Regions from separate parts of the Homo sapiens genome. Here all the other regions are linked to region 3. Evidence: promoter capture Hi-C in human tissues and cell types (Jung and others, 2019). All regions are on one chromosome and are shown on one strand. Each heading gives the region's core, a stretch centred on a gene start or on the middle of the fragment in contact. The rest is flanking DNA. Distances are from core to core; before and after follow the strand shown.

Region 1 (3,888 bases), core at 984-3,483, 1.2 Mb after region 3:
TTAAGAAAATACCCCACTCTTTCAACATTTTTTATTTCATTTTTATACCTTGGGGATGCCTTCCTATGCTCTGACTATGTCAACTTCTGTTTGATTATCACAAGTATTAAGATGAAGGTATGATCTTGAGCCTGCTCAGGGCAAGACGGCATTTGAGTGTCTACTGTGGGTTCAAGAAGGGGTCCTCATTACTAATACATGTGCTCCCTCACTCCTGCCTCCTTTGCCTAGGTACAGCGTCACTTTTCAATACAGCATTATTTTCTACAAAACCCAACCCAGACTCAGAAGTTTTATCTAACACAATCCTTTGGACCAATAGTTCTCAAAATTGAATGAGCCTCAGAAGAGTCTTAGGAACTAATGAAAATGCACATCTCTGAGCCCCGCACACAGACTCTCTGATTCAGTGTGTCTGGGGTGGGGCCTGGGAATTTGCGTTTCTAACAAGTTCCCAGGTAAGGCTGATGCTGCTGGCCCAGGAACCACACTTGGAGAACCTTTGCTCTAGGCAGTCCCTGTCACAGGTGGGTGTCGGCACATGAGAAGAAACCCATGCTTCTCCTTAGAGGTAGAGTTTCAACTCTTGATTATGTTAGCCAGACATTGTATTTTCCTGGGGCTTTTTCTCATTACCTGTTTGCTGTCTGTCATTGGTCTCAGCTTTACTTAATTTGTATTGGAATATAATTTAATTTAGTATTAACCCAATTAAAACAGGTTTAAGAAACTGTGTGATATGCTAAAGTACTAACTATAACATGTTTTTGGCTTATCTATGCATTTACAATATTTAGTCTTTATAACGTGTTCTCCAATTCTGTAGATACTAAACCAATAGCTTATTGTTGCAATAGGAAGTATCTTTCAATACAGACTCAGATGGCATTTGTCCTATGCAGTCTTTTATGTTTTTCACAGGCATAAGCTCTGTCTCACCTCAATCTTATAAGATTTTACCTTTATAAAACATATACCTTTATCCTTAATTGGGGAAATGACTGATCTGCTCTATTACAATCTTAGTGCTGTATTAGGAGGGAGAATAGTTTATTAATCTTTTTTTTTTTTTTTTTTTGAGATGGAGTCTCGCTCTGTCGCCCAGGCTGGAGTGCGGTGGCACAGACTCGGCTCACTGCAAGCTCCACCTCCTGGGTTCACGCCATTCTCCTGTCTCAGCCTCCCAAGTAGTTGGGACTACAGGCACCCGCCACCACGCCCAGCTAATTTTTGTATTTTTAGTAGAGACAGGGTTTCACCGTGTTAGCCAGGATGGTCTCGATCTCCTGACCTTGTGATCCACCCGCCTCGGCCTCCCAAAGTGCTGGGATTACAGCTGTGAGCCACTGCGCCTGGCCCTAGTTTATTAATCTTTGTATGCCCTCCTGTGCTATAACTGATGGTTTATACACAGAATATTTTTAATAAATTTTAGTTCTTCGTTGAAGAAATCCAACTTCAGTGCTGGACTTAAGGAGCATTGAGGCCTGTTATACAAGGGAAAGTACCTTTTCAGAATGAACAGTATTTAGTCACTTACTCCCTTATTCAACAAGCATGTCTTGGGTTTCCTCAGTGAAATGGGCACTACACTGGTGTTCTTCTGGGGCTTGGTGATGAAAGTCAGCAAAAAGGATTTATATGATTTCAGAGATGAAGATGACTTTCATATAGGTCACCTGGTCCAGCTGCTGATTTAATGGAAGCTTTAATTCAGGAAATGGAAGCACAAAAATTGAATGACTTATTGAGGGTCACGTTGGGAGGCAAGATTCAGAGCAGACTGGGTGGCTCAGTGGGACAAGAAGAGGATTTGGATTTGGTCTACTACTTGGCTTTGTGACCTCCTTGTACAACTTACATAACCTCTCTAAAATGGGTGTGATGTACCTTGCCTCATAATGTGATTGTAAGGACTGAAAAAAGTAAAACAATATGGATGAGGCTGGGGGACAAAATGTTAAGTAAAATAAGTCAGGCACAAAAAGACAAATATCCCATATTCTGACTCACGTGTGAGCTAGAAAGTTGATCCGTGGAGACAGAGAGGAGAATGCTTACTACCAGAGGCTGGGAAGGGTGGGAATGGGGAAAATGAAGAAGGGTTGGTTAAGGGGTACAAAAATACAGTAGAAAGAATAAGTTACAGTGTTCAATGGCTCAGTAGGGTGACTATACTTAATAATAATTTATTGTATATTTCAAAATAGAAGAGAAGATTTGGAATATTCCCAACACAAATGATGTGTTTGAGGTGATGCATATTTCAATTAGGCTGATTTGATCATTACACATTGTATGCATGTATCAAAATATTACGTGTACCCCATAAATATGTACTATTATTATTAATAAAGATGTATAGATGCCATAGTGGCCTACATTTAGAAAATAGGCAATAGATATGTTGTTATAGTAATTAATGAATAATCATAATGCAAGTTGGCCATGTTCTTGACTCCCAGTACAGAACTCATTGCTGTGTTCCATGTCAGCTCCCCCGTCATTGAATTAGATGCTTGGTCCCTAACTTGTGTCAGTTTGCCAATTTCTCTGTGCTCTCTCTATGATCTGTCTTTAGCATAGGGTTTTTAAAATACAGCTAATCAATAAACAATGCAGGAGGTTAGGGGTGCCAACCCCTCATGCAGTCAGAAACCCACATATAACTTTTGAATTCCCCAAAACACAACTACTAGTGGCCTACTGTTGACCAGAAGCCTTACTGATAACATAAACAGCCCGTTGGCATATATTTTGTATATGTATTATATACTGTATTCTTATAATAAGGTAAGCTAGAGAAGAAGTGTTAAGAAAATCATAAAAGAGAGAAAGTAGATTTATTATTCGTTAGGTGAAAGTGGATCATCATAAAAGCCTGCACCCTCATTGTCTTCACATCCAATTGGCTGAGGAGGAGGTGAAAGACCAGGGTTTGGTCTTGCTGTCTCAGGAGATGCAGAGGAGGACAAAAATTCTGTATAAGTGAACCCTTGCAGTTGTTCAAATGCATGTTTTCAAGAGTCACCTGTATTTTATTTTCCTATGTGGAATCATGTATTTAATTTTAAGTAAAAAACACGGATCTAATTAATCACATATTTTTTATTATGACAGAGGCTCCTTCAGAGTTATTCAAATGTGTTGCAACCTTGACCATGGAGGAGCAGCAGCTTTAGGGCCTTTAATTCCAATTGCACAGCCCCTGTTTTTGAATTTTTTTTTTTTTAGGGAGAAAAGCTATTTTGATGAATCACTCTCTGCTAAGGAAGGAGTTCTGCATTTTCTTCGGATTGTTACATAATCATTACTGTCTGTTACTTTCTGTCTAGAACATGGATTAGTAGACTTTTTATGGCTTTATGGGCTATAAGTGAAAATTAACTCTTGACATAGTGAGAAAGCAGCCATAGACAATAAACAAATGAACATAGCTGTTTTCCAATATAAATTTATTTACAAAAACAGGCAGTGGTCTGGATTTAACTGATGGGCCAAAGTTTGTTGACCTCTGCCTAGAATATCATGGTCTGATTTTTGGATTCTTGCTTTGAAAAACTGCTTTAAAAACATCTACAACAAAGATGGTATAATCTCATTAGGCAGTCATCAAGAGTTGAGGCTAATGCTTTCAGCGGAAGCATCTTGGAAATACGACATGAAATCATGCAGAAAAATCCGGAGATGTTGGGTAATAAAAAGTCATTTTCTTGCTATTTAACTCAGCAGTGGAGTGGAAGAATATGGTGTCTCCCTTAGGAAAAGACAGCTCACAAACCCCAAGAAAGGATGTTAGAAAGTGCTTAGAGGGTATGTGATTGAGCATAGGAAGTTTTTGGTGACTTTGCCCACGAGGAAACACATGCAGAAAAGGTCTCAGATACC
Region 2 (3,972 bases), core at 50-2,549, 1.1 Mb after region 3:
CAAAATCTGGGCAAGTGTTTAAAACATGTCAGAAATCCCAGTGTTCACTCATTGCCCATAATTCCAGTTTGACTTTGAATGCAGCCACTTTATCTACTGAAATGAACACAGTTGTCATTCTCCCCTGAAGTGACAGATTGAGTTTGTGTAGCATGTTGAATAATATATCACCCAAGGAAGCAAGTTTTGAGACTTATTCTGTGTCGCTGAAACGTGCTGCCAGTGGTAACTGTTTTTCTGAAAGAAATCTCTGGAGTGGCTTTCATAATTCAAAAACTGGCCAGTGATCTACCTTTAGAAAGCCATCTCACGTCTGTGCATAAGACCTGTGTGTGCTCTGCGTCCATCTCCTCACAGAGTTGTGTGAACATATGTGAGTTAAGGGCATGTACTTTAATGTGGTTGATAATTTTAATCACATCCTGCAAAACATTTTTAAGTTCAGGTGACATTTTTCAGCTAGCCAGCATTTCTGTATGGCTGACACAGTGCATAGATTCACATTCAGAAGTGACCTCTCTGACCCAAGTAGTGAAACCAGAAAGCTGTCCAGTCATGGCAGCCACTCCATCCATGCATGTACTGATACAAAATGATCAATTCAGTTTTCCTGATATGTAATCATTCAAAGACTTGAATAGTTCTGCAGGTGTTTGTCTGCAACAAAAGTGCGCATAACATATCCTCATGCACATCCACCTGAAAATGTATAACACAAAAACAATCATTTTTGCCTTTTTGTCAACATCGGTAGACCTGTCAACCTGGATTGTGTATCATGGTGATTCATTAATTCTCTCTAACAATTGTGTCTCAATATCCTCTGCTATTTCATTACTTTATCTAGTTACAGTGCCAGCCAAAAGAGGAACACGTGTCCCCTTTTGAACTACAGCCTCTCCTAAAATTTCATGACGAATGTCCTTAGCAGCAGGCAGGATCAACTCTTCACCAATAGTAAAGGGCTTCTTAGCGTTAGCAATGAGATTAGCCACTAAGAATGTTGCTCTCAATGCAGACACATTTGATGAAGTGGTGGCCTTCAATAATTGCATCTGTTCTTCCTGTTCACATTTAAAAAAAAAAAAAAAAAAAACTCCAAAGGCTTGTCTTTTAATGCAGGGTGCTTAGTCTCCATGTGGTGAAGCAGTTTTGCAGGTTTTATGGCTTTGTCGGATGGCTAGTTACCACATATTATACAAAGCGTTCTTGAAGAATGTGAATCACCTGTTGCAATGAACCTGTACTCTAAATAGGACTCTTGGTATTTTGTTTTAAACGCAGCTTTCTTTTTGTTGGCGGTCTCAGAGTCTCACCATTAGATCTTTCCCCCTTTTCAAAGAAGCTCTCTGGTGATATTTGCTTTTTACTCATTTTGCCTAGGGTTAGCTTGTGGGGTTACCAAAACTGTAACTGAGGTAAGTGTGCAGTGAGGAAAAGAGGCACAGACGAAAGTGGTAAATATTCTACGGACCACATATGGACTAAAATAAGTGCTGGATTCTGATTTAAGGCCTGCCACCAGACGTAGCCATACAATGGAAGTACGTTAACTCACTTGCTGCTATAAAGCCTGCCACTGGAAGCAGCTTAATTGTCACTTGCCACTTGCTGATAGGGTTTTGATATGAATCTGCAAGCAGTTGATTTATTATGGTCTCTGTGCATTTATTATTTGCAGCTGCTCCCCAGCACTAGCATTACCACCTCAGCTCTACCTCAGATCATCAGGGATTAGATTATCATAAGGAGCACACAGTCTAGATCCCTCACACACACTGTTTACGATAGGGTTTGTGCTCCTATGAGAAACTAATGCCACCGCTGATCTGATAGGAGGCAAAGCTCAGGTGGTAATGCAAGCAATGAGGAACAGTTGTAAATAGAGATGAAGCTTCACTCTCTTGCCCGCAGCTCACCTCCTGTGGTGTGGCCTGCTTCCTAACAGAAATTGTGAGGAATTGAACTCAGTGTTGTCCTGTTAGAGCAGAAAGAAAAACCAGACCAAACTCAGCTGATGCTCGCCCATGGAGAAGCATTTACCACACTCATAGCCAGAAGGGAATCCCCTAGTGGTTCGAACTTGAGTGCCTGCAAACCTAGCCACTAAGGGCTACAGCATTTTGTGTCTCCAAGCAAACTTGAAAGGCAGTCTAGGCCATAAGGACTGAAACTCTTAGGCAAGCCCTAGGGCTGAAATAGGCCCAGAGACAGTGGACTGTGGAGGCGGAGCATGTGACCTACTGAGATGCTGCCTGGGGCAGCTAAGGGAGTGCTGTCATCATCCCTCCCCTAGTCCCAGACTACACAGTTCATGGCTCCAAAAGAGACCTCCTGGGGAGGACTTTGTCTTGCATCTAGGATACCAGCTCAGTCACAGCAGGATAGGGCACTGAACATGTTTGCAATCTACCCATCTGACAAAGGTCTAATATCCAGAATCTACAAGGAATTTAAATTTACAAGAAAAAAACAACCCCATCAAAAAGTAGGCAAAGTATATGGACACAGGGAGGGGAACACCACTCACCAGGGCCTGTCAGAGGATGGGGGTCAAAGGGAGAAAGAGCATTGGGACAAATACCTAATGCATGTGGGGCTTAAAACCTAGATGATGGGTTGATAGGTGCAGCAAACCACCATGGCACATGCATATCTAGGTAATAAACCTGCACAGTCTACACATGTATCCCAGAACTTAAAGTAAAAACAAACAAACAAACAAACAAAACTAGAAAAGCAAGAACAAAGTAAATTCAAAATTAGGGAAAGAAAAGAAGCAATAAGTATCAGATCAGAAATAAATAAAATTGAAATTAAAAAATATAAAAAATCAATAAAACAAAAAAATGTTTTTGAAAAGTTAAACACAGTGGACAAATCTTTAGCCAGACTAACTAAGAAATAAAGAGAGGAGGTCTAAATCAATAAAATCAGAAATGAAAAAGAAGACATTACAACAGATACTACAGAAATTAAAAGGATTATTAATGGCTACTGTGAAGAACTACATGCCAATAAATTGGAAAACCTAGAAGAAATTTAAAAATTCCCAGAAACATACAAACTACCAAAATTAAACCATGAAGAAATCTAAAACCTGAACAAATCAATAATGAGTACTGAGATTGGAGCCATAATAAAAAGTCTCCCAGTAAAGAAAAACCTGGGACCTGATGACTTCCATGCTGAATTCTAACAGACATTTAAAGAACAAATACCAATCCTACTCAAACTTTTTGGAAAAATAGGGGAGAAGGGAATACTTCCAAACTTATTCTATGAGGCCAGTATTACCCTGATACCAAAACCAGAGACACATCAAAAAAAGAAAACTACAGGCCAATAGCTCTGATGAATTCTGATGTAAAAATACTTGACAAAATACTAGCAAACCAAATTCAACAATATATTAGAAAGATCTTTCATCATGACAAAGTGAGAGTTATTCCAGAGATGGAAGAATGGCTTAACATATGCAAATCAATGTGATACATCATGTCAACAAAATGAAAGATAAAAATCATATCATCATTTCAATTGATGCTGAAAAAGCATTTGATAAAATTTAACATCCCTTCATAATAAAAACTTGAAAATATACCTTAACAAAATAAAAGCCATATGTGACAGACCCATACCTAGTATTATACTAAATGGGGAAAAACTGAAAGCCTTTTCTCTGAGATCTGGAACACGACAAGGATGCCAGCTTTCACTATGTTATTCTACATAAGTCCTGGAAATCCTAGCTAGAGCAATCAGTGAAGAGAAAAAATAAAGGGCATACAAATTGGAAAGGAATAAGTAAAATTAGCCTTGTTTGCAGATGATATAATGTTATATTTGAAAAAACCTAAACATTCCACATAAAAAGTATTAGAACTCACAAGCAAATTCAGTAAAGTTTCAGGATACAAAGTCAACATACAAAAATCAGTAGTATTTCTATATTTCAAGCAAACGATCTGA
Region 3 (3,607 bases), core at 74-2,573:
ACTCAGAGAGCTTCTGTAGCCTCCTTCCTGGAGGCGAGGGCTGGTTCCCGCCTCTCCACCTTGTGCGGGAGACTACTTTGAGAACACCCAACAACTTCGCAGCCTAAGAGGAATGCACAGCTCACCACTTCCGCTAGATGGCGCTACTTCCCCTACTCCGCCCGCGAGACACCCAATTTATAAAATAAATACAACCCAACACCTCCCAAAACCACACCACATAATAGCAGCTCACAGGCTCCCATTAGAAATCTCAATTTGGGAGAACTGATTCTACCTCCGAGCAAGTCTAATACAATTACATTAATAAGACGCAATCCCGAATTGCACCCGAGCGTCCCCCACACCCGCCCTCCCATTGAATACACCTGTCCCCCATGCCCGGGCTTGTACCCTGGGTTGAGCTGCGGCGCGAGCCGGCGCTGAATCGTCGCCGTGCCCTCCCGTCCACTTAGGAAAGCCGGGGCGGCTTGGCAATGGGCATCCTCGGCCCTCAATCCAAGGTCCGCACCTTCCCGTACGCCGGCGCGCCGAGGCAAAGGGCCGCCGGGACGCGAGCCCACGCGGTGCACTGCGCCGACATCCCCGAGGGCAGGAGATGGCCAGGCAGCTCCGCAGCCGGGCGTCGAGCGGGAGGCGGGGGCCCGGGCGGCGCGGGCCAATGGGGGTTCACGGCGGGACAGTCGGGTGGCCGGCTCCGTCCGGGGCTCCGCGAGCCGGGCTGAGGGAAGGAGCTCCCAGCCCGCACACGGTGTAAGGGACGTGTGCCGGGTCTGCCCAACCACGCGCGCTGGCGGCTGCCCGGGGGAGAGTATTTTAGGAAAAAAGAACAAACACCAAACCACAAAAACTTTCCTGCTGCCAACAGCTAAAGCGATAGAGGCGCAGCAAAGCTCCAAATGTGGGCAAGATGGGAGCAAGATGAGACGCGGGGCTAAGGAAGACCAAAGCAGCGCCGTGGCCCCGGCATGTGTCGGCGGCGCCTCGGAGATGTCAGAGCCGGGTCTGCCCGGCTCCCGACCCGCGCTTACCTTGGCGGCTGCATGAGCCCCTGCGGCCCGCGGGGGGTGGCGCTGGCGGGGCTGCGGGAGAAGAGGGGGTGTCGGGGCGCCGCTCGTCTGCCCCGGGGCAAGGTGGGAGGGGCTCCGCTGGCGCTGGTCCCCGCCGCCCCGGCCGGCTCAGCAGCGGCCCGGGGAGCGCCTCCTGCTCCCGGGCTGCATGCCTGCGAGCGCCTGGCGGAGCCGGCCCGGGAGCGAACGGCCAGTGCTTCCCCGGCCCAGCGGCTCGGGCGGCGCAGCCAGCGCTCGGGAGACAACTGCAGAGTGGGGCGGCCGGGACCAGCCCCCTCCCTCGCCCGGCCCCCGCCCGCCGCCGAGCGCGGCGTCGCGAGGTTCGTTTGCGCGCCGAGGGGAGGGGGCGGGCCGGGCGCCCGGGCCGCGGGCGGGGGGCGCGCGCGGGCGGGGCCGGCAGGGAGGGGCGGGGAGGAGCGGGGTGCGGGCTCGCGTTGCCCCGCCCCGCCGCGGCCCCACCCTCCCGCATCAGCACCGGCTGGGTGGGTGCGGAGTGCGCCAGCGGCCAAGTCAAGACTCCTTGAATGCTCAGGTTAGGGGGCGCGGGCGGCAAGTGCGGCGACTCCCCGGGGCGCCTCCAACTTTCCGAATCGCCCGCAGGGTTGCGGTGGAGCGCACGGTGTCCTTCAGTTAGGCGGTGGTCGAGGGGAGTTCCTCTGAGATTTCTGGAGAAGGCGGTTACATCCAAGACAAATGCTGTTGCGCTCTGCGGAGACGCACCTTTGTTCTATAGAGATTTTGTTGTTGTTTAAGAATCTTCCTGAAAAAACTAATACATATGTATTACATGCTAACACACGCATACATTCTTGCGTAGAATTGTACATAACTCAGGAGTGTCTAGAGTGAAAAGACCGTATCGCACTCCCTCCCACGGCCGCGGCTCTCCCACGGCCGCGGCTCCCCCGCGGTAACCTTCGGTCAGGGTGTGCTCTGCCGCGGTTCTTTCCAGTCTCTGCGCTTTTACATGCACACGCACAGATTGCGAGTGGAATCTCCTGGGCTTTTCAAAAGAATGTTTTCAACATTAAGCGCATGCACACAGTGGCTTGAACACGGCCACGTCGGGAGCAGTAAATCCCCAGAGGCTCCGGGAGCCCAGGGAAGGACCCTTGCTGTGAAACAGCAAAGAGCCACCCAATCGCCATGTGTGGATCTGAAACCCCAGCTGGAGCGTGAAGTCGGTCTGGTTACACAGCTCAGGCCCAAATTAGCACTGCACGGTTAGAGAGATTTGCCAGTACATTCTAGACAGGGTTATGACCTTCCCCTTCTTACAGAACAAACTGTCTTGAATTTTGATATGATGAGAACTCTGGATTTGCAAAATGAAAAGGTATCGTCCGCATTAAAACACGATCGTTATTTATGCGTGTGGTCTTCAGAGATGTGGTTTTAACTCAATATTCTCCGTTTTATTTGTCAAGTGTATTTGTATAATCTATAGCTGGGATATAAATAAAATTAAGTGGTTTAGCAGGAAGGGATTGGGGATGGGTTTCTAGAATTAGCTCTGACCTTCGGCAAGTCATCTAGCTCTGCTGGGCCTCAGTTTCCTCATCTATGAATAGTAGGGTGTGTGTGTGTGTGTGTGTGTGTGTGTGTGTGTGTGTGTGTGTGGTCTTCCTGCCCTGACATTCTGTGCCCTGACATTCAGTGAATAACCAATTTCTTCATCTTTCATAGCTCAGCTCCAACATCTTCCCCACCCTCTAGGGAGTCCTCACATCCGTGCCTTTCCTTCCTAACACTGAGCTCACTCGGTAATTAGGCGCTCATTAGAGTGACCTTTCCCTACATGTTGGCCTCTCCCACCGTACCATAAGCATCATGAGGGCAGGAACCAGGACTCCTTGGAGTCATCATTGCATTCCTAGCACTTAATATGGTGCCTGGCACACTACAAGAATCTCTGAATGACTGTCACGCAGATAGTAGATTTCTTACTGTTCTTCCAAATTGCCTGGCATTTTTAAAAGGTCTGTAAGTGGAAACGTGTCTTTTTAAAATGAGGCCTTTGGAAAGTAACCAGCAGGGTTTTCCCATGGTGGGGGACAAACAATCCACTGTCTAGATAAGGACAGACAATTCTCAGCTCAATCAAGGGCCGTGGAGGTAGCCGGTAACTATTTACCTTGATGAGTGCAGGCACCCGTGGAGAAGACAACGAATATTAATGCTACTCGTTAAGTACTTGGTTAAGTTAGAACCCTGCATAGGCAGTTGGAATACACAGAGTGCTCAGATTTAAATGAAGCCGTGAAGTGTGTTTAGGGTGCAAATTAAGAAATGGACATGCTTTCAACCAACAATCTAGAAACATTCCTAATATAAAGCTCCAGGGTATCCTTGGCTTTCTTTACTGCAAAGGGCCTGGATTCCTTAATATGAACAGGAAACAGGCTAACCTAGGTACAAGAGTTTAAAAAAAAGAAAAAAGGCCATTAAGAAACAAGGGGCGGGGTAAGTGAAAGTCTAAGTCAGTACAAGACTAATATCTATATTAGTTTCTTTTTTGTCTGATATGTAGATTTGCC

The links. The method cuts DNA at HindIII sites, captures the fragments that hold promoters and counts their contacts. A contact is called where the count stands out against the background at its distance.
Region 1: a fragment that was not itself captured here is called in contact with the fragment with the promoter of RGMA in region 3 in 1 of the 25 tissues and cell types used here (lymphoblastoid cells).
Region 2: a fragment that was not itself captured here is called in contact with the fragment with the promoter of RGMA in region 3 in 1 of the 25 tissues and cell types used here (lymphoblastoid cells).

The regions. Positions count from the first base shown.
Region 1 is chr15:94,319,083-94,322,970 of GRCh38, forward strand. All of the region lies in intron 4 of MCTP2 (multiple C2 and transmembrane domain containing 2), which reads left to right. Among named protein-coding and RNA genes, the nearest start is that of MCTP2, 89 kb to the left of the region's middle. The HindIII fragment of the contact is 4,413 bases long and covers 28-3,888 here.
Region 2 is chr15:94,184,902-94,188,873 of GRCh38, forward strand. No RefSeq gene overlaps it. Among named protein-coding and RNA genes, the nearest start is that of MCTP2, 45 kb to the right of the region's middle. The HindIII fragment of the contact is 4,058 bases long and covers 1-3,328 here.
Region 3 is chr15:93,087,888-93,091,494 of GRCh38, forward strand. RGMA (repulsive guidance molecule BMP co-receptor a) reads right to left here and starts at 1,324. Exons shown (of 4, transcript NM_020211.3): 1 at 1,032-1,324. The coding sequence starts at 1,045. It overlaps LOC101927025 (a long non-coding RNA gene), which reads left to right and starts at 1,327. Exons shown (of 5, transcript XR_007064769.1): 1 at 1,327-1,390. The HindIII fragment of the contact is 13,871 bases long and covers 1-3,607 here.